Linked DNA regions of Homo sapiens: all the other regions are linked to region 3. The links are contacts of gene promoters, found by promoter capture Hi-C in blood cells and fetal thymus (Javierre and others, 2016). All regions are on one chromosome and are shown on one strand. The core of a region is centred on a gene start or on the middle of the fragment in contact, and the rest is flanking DNA. Distances in the headings are between cores, read along the strand shown. Region 1 overlaps LOC124901979 (a long non-coding RNA gene). Region 2 has its middle 110 kb from the start of CDH17. Region 3 holds the start of GEM (GTP binding protein overexpressed in skeletal muscle).

Evidence for each region. The method cuts DNA at HindIII sites, captures the fragments that hold promoters and counts their contacts. A CHiCAGO score of 5 or more calls a contact.
Region 1: a fragment that was not itself captured here is called in contact with the fragment with the promoter of GEM in region 3 in 2 of 17 cell types (M0 macrophages and M1 macrophages); the score reaches 5.6 in M0 macrophages.
Region 2: a fragment that was not itself captured here is called in contact with the fragment with the promoter of GEM in region 3 in 1 of 17 cell types (M2 macrophages); the score reaches 5.7 in M2 macrophages.

The regions. Positions count from the first base shown.
Region 1 is chr8:94,024,770-94,029,825 of GRCh38, forward strand. All of the region lies in intron 1 of LOC124901979 (a long non-coding RNA gene), which reads left to right. Among named protein-coding and RNA genes, the nearest start is that of PDP1, 110 kb to the left of the region's middle. RefSeq lists an enhancer at 1-785. The HindIII fragment of the contact is 936 bases long and covers 3,308-4,243 here.
Region 2 is chr8:94,093,094-94,097,917 of GRCh38, forward strand. No RefSeq gene overlaps it. Among named protein-coding and RNA genes, the nearest start is that of CDH17, 110 kb to the right of the region's middle. The HindIII fragment of the contact is 4,424 bases long and covers 1,112-4,824 here.
Region 3 is chr8:94,261,062-94,265,698 of GRCh38, forward strand. GEM (GTP binding protein overexpressed in skeletal muscle) reads right to left here and starts at 1,258. Exons shown (of 5, transcript NM_005261.4): 1 at 1,029-1,258. RefSeq lists a silencer at 500-569. The HindIII fragment of the contact is 9,385 bases long and covers 1-4,637 here.

The DNA of each region.
Region 1 (5,056 bases), core at 2,526-5,025, 230 kb before region 3:
TAACTAAATCCTATTTTGCCTAAGAAACTCCATTAATCACTAGTATGTGTCATATGATTATATGAATCATGATATGGTTTTTAAAATGTGAGACCTTAAAATTGTACAATTATGTCTGACTAAGCAATTGAAATGGATTTTAAAGAAAATGTGACTGAGTCACAGAACTACTGGAGACAGGAACCAGAAGCCAAACACCCACCTGTCTAACCTTTCAAGGTAACAGGATAAGCTGTTCCCATTCAGTCCCCATCCCATCACCCTATTTTAGTTTCCTGCACTTCCCCCATCTGATATTTTCCTGTTTCCTATTTTATATTGTCTGTTTCTATCTACTGGAATATGAGCTCTTAGGAGCAAGGACATTGTGATCTTATTCACTGCTATGTGCTCCGGCTCCTAGAATACTGCCCAGCACAATCAATAATTGAGGACTGAATGGAGGTTTAAGGCACCTCTCATTTGGTGATGGTTTACTGGTCAGTGGGTAAAGAGGAATGGCAGAAACAGTTGCCGGCATATGTAAGCCATTCACAGAAGTTGTGGTGAGCATTTTACATGTTCATTTCCTTAAGCTCAACAATCTCATTTCCTTTCCTTTTACATGTTCATTTCCTTAAGCTCACCTTGTATGCAGTGACACAGGGCCCCCTGACCTCACTTCTTGCTCCCACTGCTGCTGCTGAAACAGATTCCAGACAGGGTTTGATGTAGATTGCAGCTGCAAGAGCACCTCTCTTTTCCTGTCTGGGGCTCCTCTGACATCAGGGCATGAGATGCCCACAGGAGCCTGCTGGGCACTTTTGCATGTGCAGCCCAGAAATGGGGACTATGGGGACACTCTTGATCAAAAGGGCACAGGACTCAATGGACAAATGCTTCTCTCTTTAGTAATGGGGTCTGGAAGATCTGAGACTCATTGTATGAGGCTCCTCAGAAAGTTCTGATAAGATCAGGCACCGCTCCCCCTGTAGCAGGGGCCAGCTTGAGAATGCATCCTGGCATTGACTTTCCCTCTTGCCCAGCTCCTAGTTCCTCTTCGCTCTTCCTCACCCCTCCCTGGGTCCATTTCCCAAATAAACCACTACATGTAGGCATTTGTCTCAGGCTCTGCTTCCCGAAGAACTCAGGCTAAGACAGCAACCTAATTTCATTACTTGAATCTAAAAATGCTTTCTTGTTGTAGAAAACCCACCTATATACAGGTCAAAATCCTCTGGCTCCAAGAAGAATGCATTAAATCCTACCATGCCCTTTAAATCACTGGTCCCTTGGAAGTTGTTGAATGAGGCAAACTGGATGAGTGGATCTGGACATGTGGCTCTCAGGTAAAAGCAGTTATCTTAGGGGTCTCCAGCTACCATCTAATGGGTAATGATCCTACCTGAGATGGGCAGGAGCTGAGGAGCCCGGGAGCCGACTCAATGATCAGGTGTGAAGGGTGAGTGCAAGGCTGGGGTGTAGGTTGAGGTAAGAGGCCATGAGGCAAAGCTCTGAGGTCACTGTCACAGCGGGGACTGGGGTGCAAGGTAGCCTGACGTGGAATGGTTCAAGGCAAAGATTGTGAAGAAATCCAGGACACAGAGAACAAGCTGTCGTTGGATGCTGGCCCTAGGTGGCATGTAGACCAGGGGCTAGAAGGTAACTGCTAGGCTGAATGAGTGGGTCGCATGGAGATTTCTCAACTTCCAGGCAGCGCTCCATACCCACAGCAACCCAAATAAGCAGAATCTTTGGTGAGAGGAAGCAAAGAAGGCCCTGGGGCTAGAGACAGAGGACAGAGAGTAATCAGCCAAGTTTCCTCCTCTCTGTTAGGGTCTGGACCTCCTTCCCTGGCTATTTGCTTCTTCCCTTTTTATTGAGGTAAAATTAATATAACATAAAATTAATTAAAGTGTGTAATTCAGTGGCATTTAGTCCATTTGCTTTATTGTGTAACTACCACCTCTATCTAATTCCAAAACATGTTCCTTACCCTGCAAGGAAATCTTGTATCCACTCAGCAGTCATTCCCCATTCCCCTACCCCTTCCCCAGTCTCTGGTAACCTCTAATCTGCTTTCTGTCTCTATGGATTTACCAATTCTGGGTGTTTCATATAAATAGAATCATACAACATGTGTCTGGCTTTGTTCACAAAGCATAATGTTTTCAAGATTCATCCATGTTGTGGCACATATCAGAATGTCATTCCTTTTTTTTTTTGAGATGGAGTTTTGCTCCGTTGCCCAGGCTAGAGTGCAATGGCGCAATCTCGGCTCACTGCAACCTCCGCCTCCTGGGTTCAAGTGATTCTCCTGCCACAGCGTCCTGAGTAGCTGGGATTACAGGCACCCACGACCACACCTGGCTAATTTTTTGTATTTTTAGTGGAGACAGGATTTCACCATGTTGGCCAGGCTGGTCTTGAATTCCTGACCTCAGGTGATCCACCCACCTCAGCCTCCCAAAGTGCTGGGATTACAGGCATGAGCCACCACGCCCAACCCAATGTCATTCCTTTTTAAGGCTGAGTAATATTCCATTGTATAGACATACCACATTTTGTTTACCTATTCATTAGTTGACAGAAACTTGAGTTGTTTCTACCTTTTGGCTATTGTGAACAGTGCTGCTATGAACATTTGTGTGTAAGTTTGTGTTTGAGTCCCGGCTTTCAGTTCTTTTGGGTATATATCTAGGAGTGTAACTGCTCACCATCCATTTTTTATGTGTGCTCCTTTTACCAATGTGCTTGTTTGCACCCCCAAGACTCTCTGCCAACTGACTCACTAAGAAGGTCAATAACCTTTTTGAACTACAGCTCCATGAAAGGAATTAGGGCTGCCACTTAGTAGGTTGGTGCAATTAAATTGCGGTTTTTGCCATTAAAATTAATGGAAAAATTGCAAATACTTTTGCACCCACTAATAAATACATACGACTTGGCCAAAGCTAAAGAGGTTGACTTCTGGAAGAAGACTGTGAGGAGTTGACCTAAGTGTTTCATTTGTCTCCCTTCTCCACACAATAAAGATCTCAGCCTTGGATGGATTCAGCTGTGAGTGAGCGCTGGTGTGTATGTCCTCGTGATCACAGATGCATAGATTTCAGTACGTTGATGTCACAAATACATAGATTTCAGTACATCGATAAATCATTTCAAAAGGGCGGTGTCCCTGTGCCCTCATTTTCATATCCCCTTGTGGAAAGTCTTTCAGCGTACAGTTGGTTATTCATATTTGTTGCCATGTAAGCACTATCTAGGACAAATTTTTAAAAAATAGAAAAACAGAGGGGAAAAAATAGAAAGGACTTGACACTAGCCAAGCTTAAGGCCAGTTATCTGCATTAAAACATACTACTTGTGCTGTGACAGTCTAGGTTGGATGGAAGCCTTTCTGTTTTCTATTGTTGGAATGCCCTCTAGACTAGATTTGGAAATGTTTCACTGTGGTGGTTATAAGACATCAAGTCATGGCTGGCTTTGATTAGAACTTGTCCTAAGAAATAAATGCCGTTTTAAGCAACAAACATCCCAGAGTTCTCTTTCAGCAAGCTGTTCTGTTTTGGAAAGTTGACCATGTGTGTCTGAGTACGTAATATGTTTGTGGGGAACAACCTGTGGTCAAGATGGAGACAAGAAATACTAATTCAAAGCAATGTGCATAGGGATATACAATGTATTAAGAATATTTATGGGCAGTTGGATCTGCTTCCCTCCCACCTTGACCTCTTACTTCAGCTCCTGAGCTATTACTGTGAGTGCAGCAGCGCCGCTGCAGCGGGAGGGTTTCCCACTTCCTCTGCTGCATCTCCCGGCTGCTGCGAGCGCTCACATCCCTCCCCGGCTGCCCGCGACTCAGATTTTCCATTGTGGAGGTCACTGACAGTGGAGCAATTAAACAGAAGCGGAATAGCTGAGATATTTAAGTTTCTGTCCATAAATCTTGGTGGGAACCTTACAAGGGCCTTGCTTTAATTATTTTCTTTCAGAATCCCGAGATCAACAGGAACAACCCTTTGGGAGCCAGCTTGCTATTTGGATTTTTAACTCCCCTCATCAGTCTTACCAAGTGTTTTAACTGGTGATGGTTTTCATTAGAAAGCTCAATTTGCATCTTGAGGTTTCATGCATATTTTAGTAATGTATGCAGAAGGAAAATGGCAAAGAGGCATCTAGAATTTTAGCTTCCAGAATTAAAAAAAATTAGTAAACATTACTAGGAAAACTCTTAAGTTTTAAATTCGGTGGTTTCAAACAAAGCTTCTCTTCTCATCTTCACAAAAATAGTGTCCTTCGGTACCTAATAGTCTATAAAGTGCCTTCATCTACCTGGCATCGTGAGGTATCATCGTCTTCCAAACATTATTTGTGTTATAACCCACGTCTTACAGATGACAAAATGGAGGATCAGGAGAAAGCTGAGCATGGTGGTTTACAGCATGGACTCCGAAGTAAAGGAAACTAGGATTGAATCCTGGCTCCACCTCCGTCAGATTACTTGATCTGTCTTTGCTCAGCTTCCATATCTATAAAATGGAACTAATGAAACCTTAGTAATTAGGTCTTATGGTTGCCGAAAGAATTAAGTGAGTTTATATATATGTTAACTTAGTAAGAAACATTCACAAGGAGTCCTTCAGATCTCTCTCCCATGGGTTTTAAGGTTTTAAGTCCCCTGGCCTTCTACTCTTAGGGTGGGCTCCATCTGTTAATGCCCAAAGTAAGGCAGCAGAATTGGCTCATGCAATCAACCACATATGGAGGCCATCTAATTGGAAATTTTTCATCAAACTCTGTTTTCTCTTTGCTAAAATGGTGCTAAGAATAGTCTCAATATCATAGAGATGTCATAAGGATCACGTGAGGCTCACATGCATAGTGCCTGGCATATGATATTTAATGCATGTTATTAACTGCTATTATTATTACTAATATAATATTTAATATCAATTATTATTTTACTATCACCTAACCTTTCAAAACTATACCAATTTCCTTTCCATTCTATTCTTATCAAAGAAAGAAAAGAAAAAAATTATCTGTCCCTACTTTTCATAAGAAGAATTTATAA
Region 2 (4,824 bases), core at 2,074-4,573, 170 kb before region 3:
TGTTTACATTAAGTTGGGGTTTGGTTTGCTTATATAAGAACCCAAGGTGCTGGAGACATCTCAGCCTAATGGTCTCCCTGTTAATTATTCTAACAACTGGTATGTTTTGCTATATTTCAAAAGGAAGCAATTAATTTTTGGCCACCTCTCTCTCAGTCACTTTATTTATCTACCTAATAGGGTAACATCCATTTAATTAGAATGAAATGTCCAATTAATAAGGTTGGATTGTACCCATATTATTTTCTATTTTATCACATGTACAATTACTCTTGTCCTAGGTGTAGATGCATATAGCAGAACTAGACAACTATAAAATGAACATCTTTCAAACTTCTTCCTGAATCTGAAGCAGTATATAAAATGACTCTGTACAATCAAAAGCTATAAAATAGGCTGGGGGCGGTGCCTCATGCCTGTAATCCCAGCACTTTGGGAGGCAGAGGCAGGCAAATCATGAGGTCTGGAGTTCGAGACCAGCCTGGCCAAAATGGTGAAACCCCATCTCTACTAAAAATACAAAAAATTACCTGGGCGTGGTGGCAGGCACCTGTAATCCCAGCTACTCAGGAGGCTGAGGCAGGAGAATTGCTTAAACCCAGGAGGCAGAGGTTGCAGTGAGCCGAGATTGCAGCACTGCACTCCAGCCCTGGCAACAGTGCAAGACTCTGTCTCAGAAAAAAAACAAACAAACAAACAAAAAAAACCATTCAAAAGGCTTCTTGAAGATGAATTTTGAGCTGGGTCTTGAAAGAAGGATAAAACAAAAGACAGGCAAAGAGAAAGTAAAGATAGGTAGAAGAATAGTACAGCAAAAGCAATGAGACCAGAGAAGAGAGTGAAGGAATCTAGTATGGGTGGAGAAGAGAACCCTCAGCAGGGCACTTATTCTGTGATGCTGTTTTCTTTTACTAGGAAACTAGGAAACATGAAGGATGTGTCTTCTTAAGCATCGGCATTTGAGCCAGATGGCCTTGCTTTAAAAATAAATAAATAACACATTCTATACTTTGGAATGTTCTAATGTGGAAACCAATATTCAAGAATGGGCTATGGAAAAACAGTATTTTTGCTATTTTTAGAAGCAACCACCCTCTCTTTCTGAGTAATAAGCTTAAGGCTCCAAATTCTAATTCACAGACTAAAGACAAACAAATTATATCAGATTCATATTTTCAAAATATTCCAGTTGCACTCACAATTTTTCATGCGATAACTCTGCCAAAGAGGATATTGAGGTCAATAAGCACATGGCTTCCTGTGCTGGAGAGAGTTAACTGATAAAAAGGAGCAAGGGCCCTAGGGGTGGTGATGAAGACAGAGTGAGCTGTCTGATGGGCCACATTCTCCCAGCTACAGTATAACGTCTGAGAACGTGTGTCAGGCCCACTCCTTTGCAGACACAGCAACAGTAGCAGGAGGCCGATGGGGCTGCTGTGAGGACATTCAGGACAAATGATGGTCCTAAAGGGAATTCTGTAGGGCTATGATTTGAAGGTATTTTGTTTTTGTTTTCAGTCCCCTCTGCTCTTTGTCTTGTCCCCGCAGTTCTGTCTGATACTAAGAACTGCCACGTTTGGAATATCCTCATGATCACACATCTGGGTCTTGAGGCAGCAGGAGGCAGGATAGAATTTGATGGGAAAATGAAAAAAGAGAATACTAATAGGTGCCATTTAGCAAGCACTCACTACCCCATTTCCTTGAACCCTGACACCACCCTGATGGGTCACTGGCAGAGGAAACTCTTGGTTGCCCACTTAGCATCCATTTTGCCCTTTCTTCTGTTAAAAGAAAATCTTCAGACAAATTTAACAGCTTGAGGAAAGAATGATTCATGAATAAGGCAGCACTCAAAACCAAAGGCAATTCAGAGAGCTCTACCTAGCCATGTGAACAGGGAGCTTTTATGGACCGAATGCGGAAGCAAAGTAGAGAAGTTACTTGATAGGCTACAGCTAAGTATTTGCCTTATTTGAGCATGGTCTGATCAGGTGGCTGTCTGTTAATGGCCGAAGTTCAGCTCTTTGTTGTAAAATATGCTCCTAAATGAGGTTTCTGTTTCTTTAAATTAGGTTGCAGTTTGTTACCCAGGAACCCAGAGTATGGAGACAGCATCATGGTCATAGCATCCTGCTTATGTAATTTAACACTTCTAATAAAATCCATTTCATTCTTCCCCAGTGTGGCCTTGGGAAAACCAAATGCACCCCTGCTCCAGCAACTGGCTTGATTCATCTCAGGTTAAACCTGTCTCCTTCCCAGTGATTGGTTCAGGGATGGGCATAGGTACCTCTTATCTGGAAAGTTAGATGAGAGAACAACATTCCTGGGGAAGATCTTAGAAGTTTCCTTAATCTTTGATGCCTGGGATGGCTGCAGCCATACAGCTAACAGATTAGGCAGAGCCAGCATGAGAATGGCAGAGCCAGGAGAGGGAGACCAGCTTACTCAATGGCACAGTTGAGCCACTGAATCAAACAGTCCTGAAAACTGAATTATTCTAGAAACCTTGTTATGTAAGATAATTGATATCCCTACTGATTAAGCCAGTTTGAGTTTGTTTTGCTACTTGCAACCTAAAGTATTCTAATTAATACATTGCTATTATTTTCCCCACTTGGAAATCAAGAGTCAGACAGCTAAATAACTCAAAGTCTCCAGCAAGTGACTGAGAAAGCCAGGTCTCTCCAACTCTAATGCCAAGTTCTAACCTGCTAACTAATCTGGAAATGGTCTGTTCATGTCAGGGAGGAGAGCCATGGAACCAATGGCCCAGATACTCATGGGGCTGGGACATCAGAAGGGAGCAATCTAATTGCTCTCTGAGTGTTCCTCATCAGGTGGGGGTGAACAAAAATCTGAGGCAGGGCCCCCTAAGCAGCCAGGATGGGTGGTACTGCATGGGAGAGGCCCCTGTATTTCCCTTTAGAAGCACTAAAGTCTCTAAAGGGAGCTTGACCAAGTTTACAATATTGAAAACATTTTCAGAGCTTTTCCATGTACGAGATGCTTTTTTGATACATGACTTCAGTTCTGTTTTTTTTAATCCTATTGAGGCATGAAGTAGCCTCCACTTTACAGAGGAGAAAACTGAGACTCTGCAAGGCTACAGGACTTGCCCCAAATCTCCCTTGTAAGTGGTGAAACTGACACTTGATCCAAGGGCTGCCTCAGTCCCATGCTTTTCCCATGTCACACTGTCAGTGTGACTCTTGTCCCTGCAGGTGACATGTTCAAGGCCACATACTTATTTTTATCAATACCTTGGGAAAGGTGGCTTGCATGGCCAATACTATGACTCTAAGTGATTTAGAGAGAGGTCTAGATTCTCGCCCTTCTGGAGGGAAAGAAAGGAGGTGACTGCCTTGAGTTAGTTCCCACACTATGTGTCTGCTGCACTTGAGCCAAGAATTCTTATTGTCTGGAACAGGGAGAAGTCCTTTAGGGTGGGCTGGAGAACCTCATGCAATGAGCCTCTTGGCCAAACCTCCTGCAGGATTGGAATTCCACAGCACAGAGAAACCTTTAATTGAAATGCTCTTTGCTTCCCCCCAGTTCCCTTAGGCCATGAGGGAAAAGGATTCCCAGTACCTATCTCTCTTGGTACCTGGCAAAAATGCCATGTTGAGAAAAAGTCTTATCACAAATAGGTGGAGAAATTCAGACTATTGGTTTCCTAAGGTTACTAGCTGAGTTCTCTCCTTGGTCATTTATACAGATAATTGCCTCAAGCAAGTACACACCCACCTGGAACTATTCTGTTGTCCTCAACAACAGCTGTATGCACTGCCCAGAGAGACTGAAATTCTGCATGTGGCCTCTCCCTGACATTGCCATGGGATGGTCTAATTTTTTTAAACCACTTATTGAATGCCAACTGAGTACCAGGCACTAAACATACCCTTAATCTTCACAACCCTATAACGGCAGGTATTATTATTCCCCCTGAACTGATGAAGAAACTTATGTCCGGACTGACTTGCTCAGACACACAGAGCAAGTAAATGGCAGAGAAGGCATCAATTCTGTGAGGCTCGGCTTTCATTGCGGGTACGTGTGCTACCCACTGTGACTAGCCCATAGTGACAGAGTAGCAAGAACAGGACGTCATGGCAGTTCTGGTTTATGGTCTGTCAACTACGTGTACATATTATGCTAGAGCTTGGTGGAATCATGGTTGACTAAAGCCCTGGTTTTCAGTGAGCTTCTAGTCTAGTGGAGACAGATGCTCTGGAAGAAACTTATATTTGAAATCTAATATATTCATTCTCCTGTTCTTCTAAAGTAATAGAATTTTTAACTGGGTATATGATTACCAAGCCAAACACTGTCTTCCAGCCTCTCTCGCAGCTAGTGGTGGTCCTATAACAACGTTCTGGATTATGGGATGTAAGTGATCTGTGTAACATATAGTTGTGCCTTAAAAAGAAATGATGTCCCCATGCTTTCCCCTTCTTTTCCTTCCTGTTACTTGGAAGCAGATATGACGGCAGGAGCTGGAGATGCCCTGAAGAACCATGAGGTAGAAGCCACATTGTGAGGATGGCAGAGCAGCAGAACCTGGGCTCTGATGATTATAAAACAACCATAGCAAGCATGGACCATGTCCCTGGACTTCTACCTGAGAGAGAAGGCAACTTTTAATGTAAATGACTTTAACTTAGGTCTCTTTGTTAAAGAAGCCAACTTTATATTCCAATGAATACAGATGTGAACACAAATACCTGTAAATCAATGTCTAATGACATGGTAGCTTCCATCTGTCTAGTGGTGGGACCTAAGCAGAGAGCCCCAGTTTACCCCTGGGAGCCCCCAGCGGTG
Region 3 (4,637 bases), core at 8-2,507:
AGGCACTTATTGGAACTTCCATGTTTAGTAAAGTTGCCTTGATGCTCTCCAGCTGCCTGGAGAGCATCCACCTGCCATTATTGGGGGTAGGGGGGAAATTTTCTGTTTAAAGTTTATGCCTCAGCTGTGCCCTCTTACCCACAGATACCACTTTTAAAACATCCCGGCTCCAAACCTAGACACCCTGGCAGAGAAATGACCTGCTCATGTTCAGACCTATGAAATTTGCAGAGAAAGTGCCTCATTCTTAAAAAACCACATCCATTCTCAAGAGTTCTTTAATTCAACTCAGATTCCTTTTTTGAGTCAGGGTCTTGCTCTGTCACCCAGGCTGGAGTGCAGTGGCACGATCATAGCTCACTGTAGCTAGCCTCCAACTGCCAGGCTCAAGAGATCCTCCACTTCAGCCTCCCAAGTAGCTGGGACTACAGACCTGCACTACCACGTCCACTAGTTTTTTTATTTTTATTTTTATTTTTTGGTAGAGACAGTGGCCTCACTATGTTGCCCAGGCTGGTCTCGAACTCCTGGGGTCAAGTGATCCTCCTGCCTCGGCTTCCGAAAGTGCTGAGATCACAGGCCTGAGCCACCATTCTCAGATCCCCTTCTTGAAGCAAATCAGAAGGCTGAAGACTCCCCTAAATGATATTCAACAACTTCTCTACAACTTTCCCTTTGCAGACTGCCTCCCCTAGCCGGGAGGTCTGTTTTTCCGGCTACTGGTGATAAAGTATAAGTACTTACGTTGCAATCAGCAAGATGCACAAACACTCCTCTCCCACCCTCACCCCCACACTCCGTACCCCAACATCTCGCCACTAACCAGGACGACCAGCCGGTTTTTTAGTCTCAAAAGCAGCACCTCAGTTGGCAGACTTACATTCAAACAACAAATACATAAAGCATCATTAAGGGCTGCCCTCTCTGACCACTCGATCTGTAGAGGGAGGTGACCCTTCTACCGAATTGAACTAAGGAACCTGCTGATGAGAAGCGACATCCTTTGCACTTGAAGCTCTGACCCCTACCAGAAAATCCCAGTGCTGAGCGCACGTTCCAGGGGTTCTTTTCTCAACTTCGAAAGTTCTGCGGGCTGGGAAACTCCCACTCTCTCCCTTCTCCGTCTCGGGCCGTCCCCCTTACTTGGCTCGGCCGGATCGGCGTCGGGGCGTCAGCGTATCGCGTGGGTCCGCGCTGGGATACCCGGGCCAACGAGCGGGGAGTGCTGCGCTGTGCCCGCCGTCCTTGCCCGCCGCCTGCAGCCGCCGCGGCCGGGCGGTTTATAACCAGCCCAGCCGACCCGCCGCGGGGCTTTTCCGTGACGTCAGCGCCCCCGCCGGGAGGGGGCGGCTCTGCAGCAAACTCGGAGTTGCAGCCACTTGGCTAAATCAGTTACTCGCAGTCATGTGACCCCTTCTCTCTCCATTTAAAAAATAATGACAGTTCAATCCTGGGCCTCCTTTATTTTGTTTTATTTTCTTTTTACCAGATGAACACAGGAAAATGGAAAAATACACTAAGTGACACTTAATCGTCCTTCCCAGCAAAGCACTTGCGAGCTGTCGGGATAAAGGATGGAAGGGAGAGGCAGGTTTGAGTTGAGAACTCAGTTTTGCCAAGAAAACAGAGATCAACCTGGAATGCGCAGAGACTTTAGCCTCCAGGATGAGACTGCAGCCACCTTGAATAGCCAAGGCTTGTTTTAACCACATCTTCTGCAACGAAGACAGCCTTGTCACCTTCTTCTGGATAGGGGGAAGCAGATGGAGCCCCACAAGGCTTTGTTTCCCTTCTCTGGCAAGGACCCAGAGAGAAGGGGCCAGAAAGAGGTGAGGAAAGAGGACAAGACCTTGAAAAGGGCAGTTTGGAAAAACAATTTAATTGAGGATCCAAGCAGATTGTGCTAAATATTGCTGGCCCTCCTGCTCTGGGCCAGAATGCTGAGGCTCCTCAATCAGGGAATTTAATCAGCATCCCAATCAGCAGCATCTCTGTACCAGGCTCCCTGGCAAGGCTACGCCTTGGGCATGAGCCAATACAGCCTGGCCATGGGGAGGAGCACTGAGACCAACACCCCTGTAAGAGACTCCTGTGAACAAAGGGCACAGGATAATAACTACTACTACCATTTATTAAGTACCTCTGAGGACCTCTGCTTAGTAGGTACTGTTAGGCCTCCTGGGACCTTAATCCTTACTATACTTCTGCAAGGTGGCTCTATTTCTACCCTCATTGTATGGAGGAGGAAGATAACATAGGGCCAGAGAATTTGCCCAAGGTCACACCGCTGGTATAAGTGGCAGGGTCAGGACTCAAAGCCTGGTTTTCCTGAGTCTCTGCACTGCACCACCAAGTGAAGGATTTCAATGACCTCTTTCTGGGGACATGGGTATTTCCCAGATGCTGTGTTTAGAGATGATGCTGGCCTCTCCAACATATCTGCTTTTCCAGCCAGCTTCAACTCTGGGTTGGCTGGTGGCTCCGGGAAGCAGCCAAAGGCACCAGCATCTATTGAAGCAGCTGGACTCTGCTGTGATTAGAGTCAATTCACAGTTATCCTGCAGGCATTTATCTGCTTTGAGAATTAGCTACATGACCAGCTGCTGAGACCTGCCAGGTCCCAAGCTAGCAAAGGTGGAATCCATAGAGTAATGAAAACTTAGAATTCCTTTAGTCTCAGGTGTTGTGGCCCCAATCTCCTACTTATCTTATACATAAGAAACCTGAGACCCAGAGAGGAGATGACCGCTTAGGACATGACAGAACTGGAACTACAACCTGGGGATCATAATTCTCTGGATGCCCTTTGCTTCTGTCAAGTTTTTCTTCTGGGTTTCGCTGACAGGAAGTGGCTACAGATGTGGGGAAAGGAAAAGGAGAGGAGATGGGGGGTGGGGGAGATCATCTCCAAGAGTATATCACTGACTCCATTCTAAAACACATGTAATTGATGAATAATCCATGTTTCAAAATGATCCATGCTTTTTCCATACTGACACTCCTACTCTGTCAACTGGTCTCAACAGAAACATCATAGGAGTAAAAACTAAGAAGAAATCAGTTTATAAGCATATGATATAGTTCCTCAGTTCTACTTTTGCCGATTGATAAGAATCTAATACTTCACATTTATAAAAACCTAATTCTGGCCAGGCACAGTGGCTCACGCCTGTAATCCTAGCACTTTGGGAGGCTGAGGTGGGTGGATCACGAGGTCAGGAGTTCAAGACCAGCCTGGCCAACGTAATGAAACCCTGTCTCTACTAAAAATACAAAAAAATAGCCGGGCATGGTGGTGGATGCCTGTAATCCCAGCTACTCAGGAGGCTGAGGCGGGAGAATCGCTTGAACCTGGGAGGCAGAGGTTGCAGTGAGCCGAGATCGTGCCATTGCACTCCAGCCTGGGCGACACAGCAAGACTCCATCTCAAAACAAACAAACAAAACAAACAAAAAAAAAACTAATTCCATACCTAGGCAATATCTACTATGAACTATTTGTCATTGGTATATGTGAAACATACAAAAGAAAATGAACTCCAGGGACTGGGGAAAGGGAAGGGGCACACAGCAATGTTGTGTTTGGATAATAGAACAATTTTTAAATTTTTTAAATTGTCTGTCTCACAAGAAGCCACATGAACACAAACAAGAACACTACTTAAGAAGAGTCTTGACTAAAAGTTAAGTTTGAGTAATTATTTAGAGAAAAATCATAGTTATACTTCACAAAAAGCACATCTGAGCGCCAAATCTCATCTAGCCAAGTCTCAGATCCCTCGACCAGGATTCCAGCTCACTGGGATCATCTTGAGGGTGTGGAGCTGGAGAGAAAAGGTAGAATCAGGGCATTTGGGTAAGTGGCAAGTTTTGAAGAGGAAAAATTGGCAGAAAGTTGTCTTTTGTTCTATGAATTATTCTCTCCATATTCTTTCTGCCAGCATTTGAAGGCTTCCTCAGTTTCTAGCTACAATGAGTAGCTCAAGAGTATAGCAAAGAGGCAGAATTCAAAGCAACAAAAATAACTCACATTTACTTACCAAAATGCATGCCTATCTCAGCTAATCCGCATCACCCCTACAGTTACCCATATTCTATGGGGAAAGGTGCTGAGGAATGAGGGTTAAATAACCAGCCCAGGGTCACAGGGTGGTTAGGTGGCAGATGTGTACTCTCTGGGGCCACAGTCTTAACTGCTGTTCTATTTAGAGTAGGGGATATACGTCAGTCCTCATTCCCATACTAGCCCCACCTTGGCCTACCACCTTCCTAAAACCCTCAAAGGAGAAGTTTTTGTCTGATTGGCCAAAGCCCATGACCTTCACTGGGCCACCTGTTCCTAGTGGGCCGAGTTACTCTACTTAAAGGCATGAGCCATCCTTTCCTCTCTCTTTTCTCCACATCCCTGCCCTAGGGCAGAAGGTGAAGTTGGGGTCTGTTTGGGGACTCTGCCTACTACTCTGCCACTGTCACTGTCACTTAGCATGTAGACTTGAGCAACCAGTTCCCATGATTTCAAATAGGATGAGAAAGGAAGGAAAGACGTAGGGAAAGAATAGGACCTTTGACCAGGGTTGTAAATAAGGGCATCTGGGACTTGCACAGACATTAAGATAATATTACTTTGAATACCATGTC